3 separate regions of the Homo sapiens genome follow, and regions 1 and 2 are each linked to region 3. Evidence: promoter capture Hi-C in human tissues and cell types (Jung and others, 2019). All regions are on one chromosome and are shown on one strand. Each heading gives the region's core, a stretch centred on a gene start or on the middle of the fragment in contact. The rest is flanking DNA. Distances are from core to core; before and after follow the strand shown.

Region 1 (3,938 bases), core at 272-2,771, 200 kb after region 3:
TAGGGTGCATTGCTTTCATATGTTTTTCCTCATACGGAGGTGCCAGTGGTGCTGTGGCTCTGATCTGGTTCCAGGAAATGAGAACCTAGTCCTGAGAAATGGAAACTTCCCCAACTCTTGCGAATAGAGGCCTTTCACACAACTAATAACCTCAGTTGTCCAAGGCAGTTTTGTCCTATGATGTCTCCCCACTGAGACAAAGCAGCCCAAATTGCTTCAGTTTTATGAGGTAAACTGCATCTGCAATTTCATTCTCCCAGCTAGAAGGAAGAAATGGAGTGCAGTTGATGGAAGTAGTCTTGGATCTTTAATGCTTCTTGGGTGCTTCTTGGGGCTACCTGGTTCTTAGTGACTTGATAAGAGTTAAAGCCCTATCCAAAAAGTCCCTGCTAGAAACTTGCTTGTTGGCAGGCTCAGGTCTAATATTGGAGCAGAACTTGAAGTGGGGATAATTTCAGTACTCACCCTTGGGAGTCTTGAATTTCTCATAGCACCAAAATATGGCAATGAGGAGAAGCCCTTCTCCAAGCTGGAAAATCATGTAGAGGAGGGGAAAGAAGAAAAGTGGTCCAATGACTTCAGGTGGAAAGGCCACATTGAGGATGGTGGAACAGAGTTGGACATTTTGGCATCCAGTCTCCATGCTGACAGTGCGTCTGCACCTGTGCCGGTGAAGAAAACCCCACATACACTCAGAGGGAACTGGAGGGAGCAACTTTGTCCCAGTGCTGCTACCAAAGAGTTTCGCAGCAGATGGAATCTAGACCCTGGACAGGGGTACTTTGCTATTGCTGCTGGTGTTTGGATACCTTTGGTGTCTGGATTTTTAACCCGTTCAATACCTTCATTCAATTTTTTTCAAGTCTAAAGTCTCTTGTCCAGTTAGTGCATCTGAACATATTGCCAGGAAAGTGTCTTGCCCAGATTTCAGGTTCCTAGCTTCTTATTCGTTTCCTGAAAGACTAGGACAAGAATGAAGCCCATGGGACAGTGGGACCTAAAATAATACCTATCTCCAGGCATGCAGTGGCTCACACCTGTAATCCTAGCACTTTGGAAGGCTGAGGCAGGTGGATCACTTGAGCTCATTAGTTCAAAACTAGCCTGGGCAACATGGTAAAACCCTGTCTCCAGAAAAGTTAAATCAGCTGGTCATGGTGGCTTGTGCCTATAGTCCCAGTTACTTGGGGGGCTGAGGCAGGAGGATCAGTTAAACCCTGGAGGTTGAGGCTGCAGTGAGCTGAGAATGTGCTACTCCCCTCCAGCCTGGGCAACAGAGTGAGACCCTTTCTTAAAAAAAAAAAAAATACCTACCGTCCATTGAGGCAGAAGAGAGCAGAGAGAACATAACCCAGCAGAAAGCCAATAAAAGGCATCAGGGAGGAGGTGGCAATCAAGAGTGGTGTCATGGCAAACATGATGCTCTTCCCCACATTGATGGCAGAGAGAACTGTGACGGCCACACTGCACAAGAGAATGATGATCATCCCTCCCTGGGAATGAAGACAAGAAAAGGCAATTAGAAGAGTTGGGGATAGAGAGGAACAGAGGTGGGGAAGCACAGGTAGAAATTGGAGGTGGGAAACATTGCAATAAAACACTGGAAGTGGAAAGGAATATGAAAGACCTTTATCTTCTTTTTGGATTCCTTTCTTTAAATTTTTTTAAAATTATTAACATTAGAGACAGGGTCTTACTATGTTGCCCAGGCTGGTCTTACTCCTGGACTCTTAGCGGTCCTCCTGCCTTGGCCTTCCAAAGTGCTGGGATTACAGGTGTGAGCCACTGCACCCAGCCCATCTTTTTAGATTTCGTATCAGTAGCTAGGAAGCTTGGGGACAGCTGATTAACACTTTGATTATTACAAACTCAGCCAAGCACAGTTACTGCTTTTGACACATCTCTGGATAGCAGACTTTCAGTGAAGTGTTACGTGAGGCTATTCAGGACTCCTGCAAAATGGATATTATTTAAAAGTCAAGTATTTTTGGAACTTATATACACATTCCTACAATACTGTCATTGTTCCACATACTTTGAAACTCATGAGAACTTGTCATACATATTTGTCTCAAATACCTTGATTACAGATAGGGATTTTATCCATTTTAGGATCAATTCTGGAAATTGCCAAGAGTCATTTGAAACAAAGCTGGTAAACAAGGTGGATGATCAAGCCCGGAAATACGGTTTTAAACCCAAAATGATGTCTAATAATAAGGGGACAAACCTACTTTCTTGAGTGACCTGCAAATTGAATATGAAGGAAGTTCCCAAAAGAACTTTCAGAAATATCTTGGGTGATAACAACATCATTGGAAACTATGCAGGTCTACTCTGAATGAAATTATAGGGTTTTTCATTGTGCAACATAGGATGCAACCTTTCAAAGTGCATGTGCACTCCATGCACTTTGTACTTTCCAGTGTGCATTTTAGAGAATTGCGTCCTCCAAAATGATAAACAGGTATGTGTAAATTTAAGACTGTCCCTTTTATCTCCTGAGTAAAGAAATACTTAACTTTTCTCAAACTTACCATGTTATTTTGTAATAGTTACATGTGTTGGTTCATTTTTTGGTTCATTCACATGTGTTGCATTTTATATTTCCTAGTAACATTTTAAAAAAGTAAAATATGTATAGCAAAGTTTGCCATTTTAATCACTTTTGAGTGTACAGTTCAGTGGCATTAAGTACATTCATAATGTCCTAACGACATTTTAACATTTATATTGCTCAAATTTCAGCTGCACAGCTTTGTGTTTCTGTTTTTAATACTTGTTGCAACTGATATGATCATATAAAACATCACCTATACCAATTAGTGGTCCTATCCCAGCATAGGAAGGACTTTCACACATCTCTTGAATAACCATGTGCTTCAAGTTTTATTAAAAGACTTATTAGCTAATGAACTTCTCAGTTTACCTTTGCATTTTTAGTTGATTTCCCCTTTTAGATTTCTGTCTTTCGAATTTGTCCTTTACCCAACAGTCAAATAATTTTTAATCTCTATCAAGAGTGGAGTGGATAATGTAGGAGACATTGAGTTACAGGAATTGTCCACGAATCCAGAAGCCCTCTTCTTCTGTATAGGCATTCACTCTTATTCTCTCACTCATGTTCTCTGACTCTTGGGGACTGCACAGTTGTGGTTATGAGCACATAATTTGATATGATCCTGGTGGGAAAGCTGCCTCTGCTAGTCTCCAGGTGTGTAAGCTCTGGGGAGTCACTCAACCTGAGTGAGGTTGACGGCATAGGACCTGGCATATAAGAACCGCTCACTAAACTGTAACTCCTGTTATTACTCAAAGGGGAGGAATTAACATTCTAGAGGTTCCTGTCACTCTCACTGCTGCCATCTCTGGAAATTTATCCTGTCTACAACCCCTGTCTCCTGCTGAGACAAGTGGCCCCGGGTAGTTGCTTCTCCATAGGCTACCACATTTTGTACCACCTGACTTCATTGCCCTGCTCACAACTGGGATGAGTGCTCATTCATGGGCAGCCAATCCATTGGCTTACACATGAGATGACATGTCCACAGTCTACCCACAAAGGTGGCCCGCACAGGCTGGTGAGTGGTAGAAATAATCAGATTCTCTCATTTAGGAAGTTTGCAGGATTACAGAGAGGGAAGCAATAGCAGGGACAAGTGTCAGAACAGAGGTCTGGGAGCAATAGCCACAAGTTGGCAGAAGTTGTAAGACAAAGGAGAGTTAGGGGTCAGTTCAGCAGTAGCAGCAGGTGTGGGAAATGCATGAGTAGAGTGTTGAGTCAATGAAATGGTGGGATCCTTATTAAAGAGTGGTGGATGGCTTATGGTGAAAGTGGCTCCTGGACCATGTCATTCTCAGATTCATCACCCTTTTAGCCACATAGCCTTTGGATAAACCCTTGCATGGGTAAGTTAAAAATTACTTGAATTGCCTTT
Region 2 (3,968 bases), core at 714-3,213, 170 kb after region 3:
TGGACTTTAGGGAACCTAAATATCTTAAAGGACTAATTAGGTCAGAAAAAAGACATAATTTATAATCCAATTTTGGAAAGTTTGTCAAATATCAAAGGTTTTAAACACTTGATATCACAAAATAGGATCACAGGTCATTGTAAAATAAGTCATTCATTTAACCAAAGTGATAACTCAAGGATTAAAAAAAAAAAAAAGGAGAAAACCTTTATTCTTTGAGACAGACAACTAAATTTTCCAAACAATAAGCCCTAATAAAAACAGCATGGGCCAGGCGTGGTGGCTCACACCTGTAATCCCAGCACTTTGGGAGGCCGAGGCGGGAGGATCACAAGGTCAAGAGATAGAGACCATCCTGGCCAACATGGTGAAACCCGGTCTCTACTACTAAAAAAAAATACAAAAATTACCTGAGTGTGGTGCTGCGCACCTGTAGGCCCAGCTACTCGGGAGGCTGAGGCAGGAGAATCACTTGAACCCAGGAGGTGGAGGTTGCAGTGAGCCGAGATCACGCCACTGCACTCTAGCCTGGCAACAGATCGAGACTCTGTCAAAAAAAACAAACAAACAAACAAAAAAAAAACCAGCATGAAACCAAACTTTTATAAACAATCTATAAAATTTTAATCTTGACCATAAGATATAACTTCCATAAACCTTTTATAGCCTTTATAACCTTTATTAAGGAGTTGGATAATGCTTCAAGAAAACCTTGTTAATCTGACATAGGCCCATATGCTGGTCTTGCATCAGTGTGCCTTTAACATTAATGATTAATTTATAGAGAAACTGAACTTATTTTATCATTCAAAATTGGCGCTTATAATCTTAGGTGCCTACCTCTTCCACAATAGTCCCTGGGCCTTGAGGAGTTGAATAACTTCAATTTCTTGCCCTATGTCTCAGGAATGCAGTTTACTTTGATTGGCATCTTCTATGGGGCCTAAAGATGAGGCTTTAATTGCTGTCAGTGTTTAAGATTTAGCAGGACTTGGTGTCTTTTTTAGACTCAGGAATCAAAGCCCTGTAACTCAATGTCACAAGGACTTTAAAAGCACATACAGGAAGATACATGGATGTAATAACCTTAATTGAGAAGATTTGTTTGTTTGTTTGTTTGTTTTTGAGATGGAATCTCACTCTATTGCCCAGGCCAGAGTGCAGTGGCATGATCTTGGCTCACTGCAACCTCTGCCTCCTGGGCTCAAGCAATTCTCCTGCCTCAGCCTCCCGAGTAGCTGTGATTACAGGCGCACACCACCACGCCCCACTAATTTTTGTATTTTTAGTAGAGATGGGGTTTTCCCAGGTTGGCCAGGCTGGTCACAAACTCCTGACCTCAAATGATCCATCCACCTTGGCCTCCCAAAGTGCTGGGATTAGAGATGTGAACCATGCACCAGCCAAGAAAAATTTTTTTATCTCAGTTTTTTTCCTAAGTGAACCAAAACTTAATAATAAGATGACAACTTGATCATATTAAAGTTTTTGCTTTTCAATATAAATCCTCTTATTGTGACTTACACTGACCATTTGTGACACGCTTGGACTTTCTGGTTTGTGCTGAACATCCCTCCTTCTTAAACAACCATTTTATTTTAGGATTAAATTTACCATACGAGATTCTTTCTCATATAAAATTATTTCGCTTTAAGCTTTCTTACCACAAAAAATACCTCTTTATTTTTATTATTTTTTATTTATTTATTTTTTGAGAAGGAGTCTTGCTCTGTCGCCCAGGCTGGAGTGCAGTGGCGTAATCTTGGCTCACTGCAAGCTCTGCCTCCTGGGTTCATGCCATTCTCCTGCCTCAGCCCCCGAGTAGCTGGGACTACAGGTGCCTGCCACCAGGCTGGCTAATTTTTTGTATTTTTAGTAGAGACGGGGTTTCACTGTGTTAGCCAGGATGGTCTCGATCTCCTGACCTCATGATCTGCCTGCCTCAGCCTCCCAAAGTGCTGGGATTACAGGTGTGAGCCACCGGGCCTGGCCAATACCTCTTTATTTTTATAACTTTCTTTACATCTCTTTATTTTCTGGTTCCTTTTACCTTGTTTCATACATAACCTTTAAGTTAGCTTTGAATTAGAAAAAACTTGTACACCTTTTTAAAAAAAGGATACACTTTTTTTTTTTTAGCAAGAATGTTTTCCTACAATATATATTTATTGGAAAATACCCAAATAATGAAATCTCTGTTACTTAACTTTGTATCCTAAATTCTGACCAGTTTATCTATAAGTATTCATCCCATTACATTTACCTAATTATTTTAATTGTTTACTTAGATTATTTATGAAAACTGTGATATGATTTAAAGTTATGAAACCACCATTGCAAAGTTATAACTGAGACAGTGAAAAAAGATTTGACCTAACTGACTCCATCTTGCTCTTAACCTCCAAGCTGTCCTTGTTCATTCCTGGATATAGGCTGAACTAACTTTAAGAGGAACTTAGTTTATAGTTTAGCTTTGAAACAAAGATGGTAACAGTCCTTTCCCAAAACAAACCTCCTCATTGCCTGTGGACTAGGTTGCCTAGAGCTACAAGATCAGAAGTTATGGAAATCTTACTAAATTTAAGATGCAGATATTTTCATTAAAGCAATATAAATGTCTTATTTATTAAAAATCACACAAGCAAAGACCATTCTGTTTTTGGCTCAGTTTATAGTTTTGCTATAACCCCTGTGCCAAGTTTTGACACCTTCTATTGTTTGGCAGGGATAAGTATGAAATTGCTTGATTAATAAATGCAAACAAAGATGTACGCTGGCAATTCTTTTTGAGACGGATTTTTGCTCTTGTTGCCCAGGCTGCAGTGCAATGGTGCAATCTCAGCTCACTGCAACCTCTGCCTCCTGGGTTCAAGTGATTCTCCTATCTCAGCCTCCTGAGTAGCTGGAATTACAGGCACCTGCCACCATGCCCAGCTAATTTTTGTATTTTTAGTAGAGATAGAGTTTCACCATGCTGGCCAGGCTGGTCTCGAACTTCTGACCTCAGGTGATCCGCATGCCTTGGCCTCCCAAAGTGCAGAGATTACAGGTGTGAGCCACCACACCCAGGCTGTATGCTGGCAATTAAGACATTTCTAATATTACTTTACCAATAATTTTAAAGCTAGCTTATTCATTAAAGATTTTACTTAAGTTACATAAATTTAAAAAAGCATTTGACTAGTCTTTTCTTTTTTAGTAGCACTTTAATTTTTTTAAGCCAATTAATTAGAGCTCTTTTATGTATTATTTTAGTAGTAAAACATTGTGTATATAACACATAAATACACAGACATATTCGACATGCCAATGGAAGCACATTTTACAGATTCATAAAAATGCTTTTGGCTGGGCGTGGTGGCTCACACCTGTAATCCCAGCACTTTGGGAGGCTGAGGCAGGTGGATCACGAGGTCAGGAGTTCAAGACCAGCCTGGCCAACATGGTGACACCACATCTCTACTAAAAACACACACACAAAAAAAATTAGCGGGTGTGGTGGCACGTGCCTGTAATCCCAGCTATTCGGGAGGCTGAGGCAGAGAATTTCTTAAACCTGGGAGGCAGAGGTTGCAGTGAGTCGTGATTGTGCCACTGCACTCCAGCCTGGGCGACAGAGCAGTGGCTGGGGGTGGGGGGGTGCGGGGCGGGGAGGGGTTTCTTTTTTTTTTCCCTATCTTCGACTTTCAGATTCTTGGTAACCTGTTTTACAACCCTGGGCAGTTGTCAGCTAAATAGCCTTAAATTTGCATATTAAGGGAAGTCAAATAGTAAAATTTACATTATAAGGTGCAGAGAGAAAAATTTGGATTATAGAAATTATAAAGGCCTTTTAAATACACACACACACACACACACACACACACACACACACACACACACACACACACACCCTGCAGCTTTTATTTCAGAGCTTTTAGCCATGAGATAAATACAAATTTACTGGCTTGCAAAAAGAACTTGTTGGA
Region 3 (4,503 bases), core at 498-2,997:
AAGGCGTGAAAAGACGCCGCTTCTCCTCGCGCATGATGCGCTCGCGCTCGGCCCGGCATTGCTGCAGCTTGGCGCGCCGCTCCGCCTCGTAGGCCTCATACAGGCCGGTGGCCACCCGCATGGAGCGGCCCGGAGCCTCTCGCACCAGGTCGGCCAGGGCCCGTGGCAGCAGCTCCACCGGCTTGACCGCACAGCGGGCGCAGGCCTCTAGCGAGCGGGGGCTGGTCAGCACGTAGCGGCTGCCCTCCGCCTCTGGGCAGTCGAAGTTGAAGAGGTCGAGGTGCAGCAGCGGGGACTGCTCCCGCCGCCCGCCTTCTGCGGCTGCACATGGGACTTCTGCCTTGCGGGGCACCGCCGCGGAGGCCGAGGCCGAGGCCGAGGAAGCTGCGGGCTCCTGTGCGCCCTGGGAATCAGGGGGCACGGACGCCACGGCCTCGTCCCCTCCAGAGTCGCCGGGTTCCGCTCCTGCCTTCTCTTCTTCAGGCACTGGGTCCACCATGGCTGAGCCCCGTCCTTTGTTGGAATCTCTGCAGATCACAAGGAGGGACATCGAGGAATACGTCTGAGAGCTCTTCCCCCCTCCTCATCCATAGTCACCCCATCCCAACTTAATCCGCTTTCGGATTAGGCTCAGAGGCTTTGGTGGAACGTAAATCATAAAACCGATGTCGGAAAGCCCAGGCTGAGCGCCAGAACGGGGATGGGGGTGGGGCGGACACTCGTGTTCAGAGAGCAGCCTGGGTCTCCCTCAGCCCCGGAATGCGGGGTGGAGGCCTGTGGCGAGGCTCCTCTGGGCGCCTAGCCCGCTAGATGCATCCCCTTTCTGCTGCAAGTTAAGATGAAAAGATCCAGGTGCAGGCAGGAGCTAGAGAGGGAGGCGCTGGAGGATTCCCGGGAGGATTAGCGTATTTGTTTGTAGCTTAGGCGGGCTACTGGGGATGCAGCTTTGCAGGAACAAAAAAGCAAGAGGCCTGTTCATCCCAAGGGACCCCATTTGCCTAAGGGAAGAAGTTTATGGTTGATTTCCCCTGCCAAAGGAGACTCGGTCGCAAGGCCCCCGGGTGATTAAAGGGCTGGGAGAAGTCCCCAAAGGCCTCTCCGGGAGGGGTGATGGATTCTTGCTCCAGCAGCTCTGGCAGGGCTTACTGAGGGCTCTGCACGCCGCCTCCGCCCCCACCTCCACCCCCACCGGGTGTTTGCTGGGGATGGAGAAGGTGCCTGGATACTCTCAGACGCACCGGATCTCCTCCAAGTCTGAATGTGCTAAAGATACCATCCACCCCAGTCGGGGTTCAGATACCCGCCCTCGGGTGCCCTCCGAGTTCCCCCACAGCATCCCAGTGGGTGGGCTCCTGGAGTGCAAAGAACCTGGCCGCCCAGGTTCCCGCAGCTCCCGGTACCCGAGCCGGTTTACTCACCCCGCGTCCTGGGCTTCGGCCCCGCGCCAAGGGCTTTTGTTCGCAGCTCGCCGCTGTCCCCTGCGCTTCTTCAGTCTCTGCGCCGGCGGGGTCGGGTTACTGCCGGCTGCAACCGTGAAAGGAGCCCCATCTGCCGCCGCCAGCGTCTCTCCATGGGGTCTGCGAACAGGGCGCACGCACCCCAGATGCTACCTACACGTGGGAGGGGGAGTGCGACAATGTCTCCCTAAAATAACGCGGCTCTGCACCCTTCCCTCACATTGATTCTTTAAAAAAGAAGCCCGGTTCCGTCGCTGCGGCATCCCTCTACACCTCTACAACCGTGGAGGTACCGCAGGTCCCACGCTGCCCCCTGCGCCTCCTGGCGGACACTCGAGGGTGCTGGTTTGTTTGCTTCGAGGACGAAGGAGAAATTTTTGTTTAAATGTATATATGTACATATATACACACATATAATATGTATATATATACACTACACACATACAGGTAGATGTAGGTATAGATATGGATAGATATCGATATATAAATCACCAAGAAACCCTAGTCTTTCAGCAGCCTAACTGGGTAGAATGAAGGAATTGCTCAGCTTGTTTCTAAAGGAAACCCTGAGGAGCAAACAAACTTGATAGCGAATAATTGGGTGGAAATATGGCGCCTGATGCAAATTGTGATTTTTTTTTTTTCAATGAAAAACTAAAAACAGGCTGGGCAAGGTGGCTTACACCTGTAATCCCAGCACTTCGGGAGGTCGAGGCCAGTGGATTACTTGAGTCCAGGAATTTGAGACCAGCCTGGACAACATAGCGAGTCCCCATCTCTAAAAAAATTTTCAAGAATTAGCTGGGGTGGTGTCCTGTGCCTGTAGTCCCAGCTACTCCAGAGGCTGAAGTGGGAGGATCACCTGAGCCCAGGAGGTTGAGGCTGCGGTGAACCATGACTGCACCACCGCACTGCAGCCTGGGTGACAGAGTGAGACCCTGTCTCAAACAAAATAAAACAAAATAAAAACAAACAAAAACTAAGAACACTTATGGGTTTGACGCAGGTGGAACATATGTAACTGGTGTTTAATGCAACATTTTATGACTTCCTGGTTATAGATAATAACAATTATAACCAGTTAGTGCCATACAATGAGTGTTATTTTGAGACATCTCCTGCCCACCTCTTTTCCATTTTGAGTGATAGTGGCCGTAGGAGACAGACCGGAGGAGTGCTTGATGGAGGGAAGTCGAGGAGAGGATGGGACATAACATTAGAGGGAATATTGAACTATGCATTAAATAACCTTGGCTGGGTGTGGTGGCACACACCTGTAATCCGAGCACTTTGGGAGGGCGAGGCGGATGGATCACTTGAGATCAGGAATTCGAGACCAGCCTGGCCAACATGGTGAAACTCCGTCTCTACTGAAAATACAAAAATTAGCCGGGTGTGGTGGCATGCAGCTGTAATCCCAGCTACTCAGGAGGCTGAGGCAGGAGAATCGCTTGAACCTGGGAGGCAGAGGTTGCAGTGAGCCGAGATCTCACCACTGCACCCCAGCCTGATGACAGAGCGAGACTCCATCTCAAGAAAAAAAAATTAAATTTTAAAAAATAACCTTGACATTGTCAGGTAGACTGTGAGGAGAAAGTGAAGGGTTTTAAGTGGGGAAATGACATGATTTGGTTTTTATTTTAGGAACATAACTCTGGCAACAGTGAAGTGGAGGCTTTACAAAGGCCAGGGCCAAGAGGAGGCAGGAAGCCCAGTTAGCTGGACACTGTGGTCACCCCAGGCAGGAAGGATTGGGGCCAGAGAGGAACAGTGGCAGGAGGAATACAGCACATAGTGATGGGGAGGGCCAGGGAAGGATGGTTTCCTTTTCGGACCTCTTGATTGAGGTGGAGCTGCTCAGCAGGTGGCTGATAAGTTGTGTCAGAGATCTGGACTGGAGCTAGAATTAGGACATCGTGACCCTATACCTGGTTCCTAAAACCAACAGTGTGAGTGAGATCACTCAGGGAGGGCAGGTGGAGCAATGAGAGAGGCTGGCAGGGCATGGATAGGGCTGCTAAGGGAAAAGGAGTGCACGAAGGGGACCAACAAGGAGTGCAACAAGGACAGACAGCAAAGTGTGGTCTTGTGTGAGCTACCAGTGGGGCACTGCAGAAGGAGAGTGTGCCCCTTGTGTTAAGGGCTGCAGAGGTCCAGGAGGTTTCACCTGGAGTCAAATACCCACTGAAACTGGCAGTTATGAGTCTTGGGTGACATTGGCAAAAACAGCTTAGTATTGCACTAGGGCAGATGCCAAGTGCAGGAAGCTGAGGTGCAATGGGAGGTGAGAATTACTGATGCTTTTGACATTCAGGTAGTAGTTTTAAGAACACGAAGCCTTTGGAATTTTACCCTACTTACATACTAACAGGTGAGCCTGCCACTGTTCTGTATATGCTGGCAGAAGACAGGAGACTCCAGGGTCAGAAACCACTGACTTTGTTACTCATGGCACAGCAGGCAGCATGAGATCATGCTTTTGTTGGCTCCCCTTGCTCCATGTGTCCCATGGGTCATAGACAGGTAGTGAATTAGGTAGAGATTAGTAAACCCTAAACTTCTCAACAGGGCTACTAGCAAACCTGCTCAACCATTGCCCCAGTGACAGCATTATCTTTATTATCCTGGACTGCAAACAAATCTCCCTGCTTCCCTGGAGGGAGATTCTATCTCTATCATCCTTGAAAAACAGTCCAGCTGGGCATGGTGGCTCCTACCTGCAATCTGGCACTTTGGGAGGCCAAGGCGGGAGGATTGGCTGAGCCCAAGAGTTTGAGACCAGCCTGGGCAACATAGTGAGACCTTGTCTTTACAAAAATTAATAAAATTAGCCAGGCGTGGTGGTGCACACCTGTAGTCCCAGATACTCTGGAGGCTGAGGTAGGAGGATTGCTTGAGCCTGGGTGTTGGACACTGCAGTAAACTGTGATTGTGCCACTGCACTCCAGCCTCTCACTCTAGGGAACAAAGTGAGACTCTGTCAAGAAAGGAAGGATGGCTGGGTGCAGTGGCTCACGTCTGTAATCTCAGCACTTTGGGAGGCCGA

The links. The method cuts DNA at HindIII sites, captures the fragments that hold promoters and counts their contacts. A contact is called where the count stands out against the background at its distance.
Region 1: a fragment that was not itself captured here is called in contact with the fragment with the promoter of CCDC177 in region 3 in 1 of the 25 tissues and cell types used here (spleen).
Region 2: a fragment that was not itself captured here is called in contact with the fragment with the promoter of CCDC177 in region 3 in 1 of the 25 tissues and cell types used here (dorsolateral prefrontal cortex).

The regions. Positions count from the first base shown.
Region 1 is chr14:69,777,868-69,781,805 of GRCh38, forward strand. SLC10A1 (solute carrier family 10 member 1) reads right to left here. Exons shown (of 5, transcript NM_003049.4): 3 at 1,315-1,493; 4 at 466-662. Among named protein-coding and RNA genes, the nearest start is that of SRSF5, 13 kb to the left of the region's middle. The HindIII fragment of the contact is 5,075 bases long and covers 1-3,938 here.
Region 2 is chr14:69,742,157-69,746,124 of GRCh38, forward strand. No RefSeq gene overlaps it. Among named protein-coding and RNA genes, the nearest start is that of SRSF5, 23 kb to the right of the region's middle. The HindIII fragment of the contact is 9,492 bases long and covers 1-3,968 here.
Region 3 is chr14:69,573,124-69,577,626 of GRCh38, forward strand. It overlaps CCDC177 (coiled-coil domain containing 177), which reads right to left and starts at 1,748. Exons shown (of 2, transcript NM_001271507.2): 1 at 1,419-1,748; 2 at 1-527. The coding sequence starts at 499. The HindIII fragment of the contact is 5,538 bases long and covers 1-3,362 here.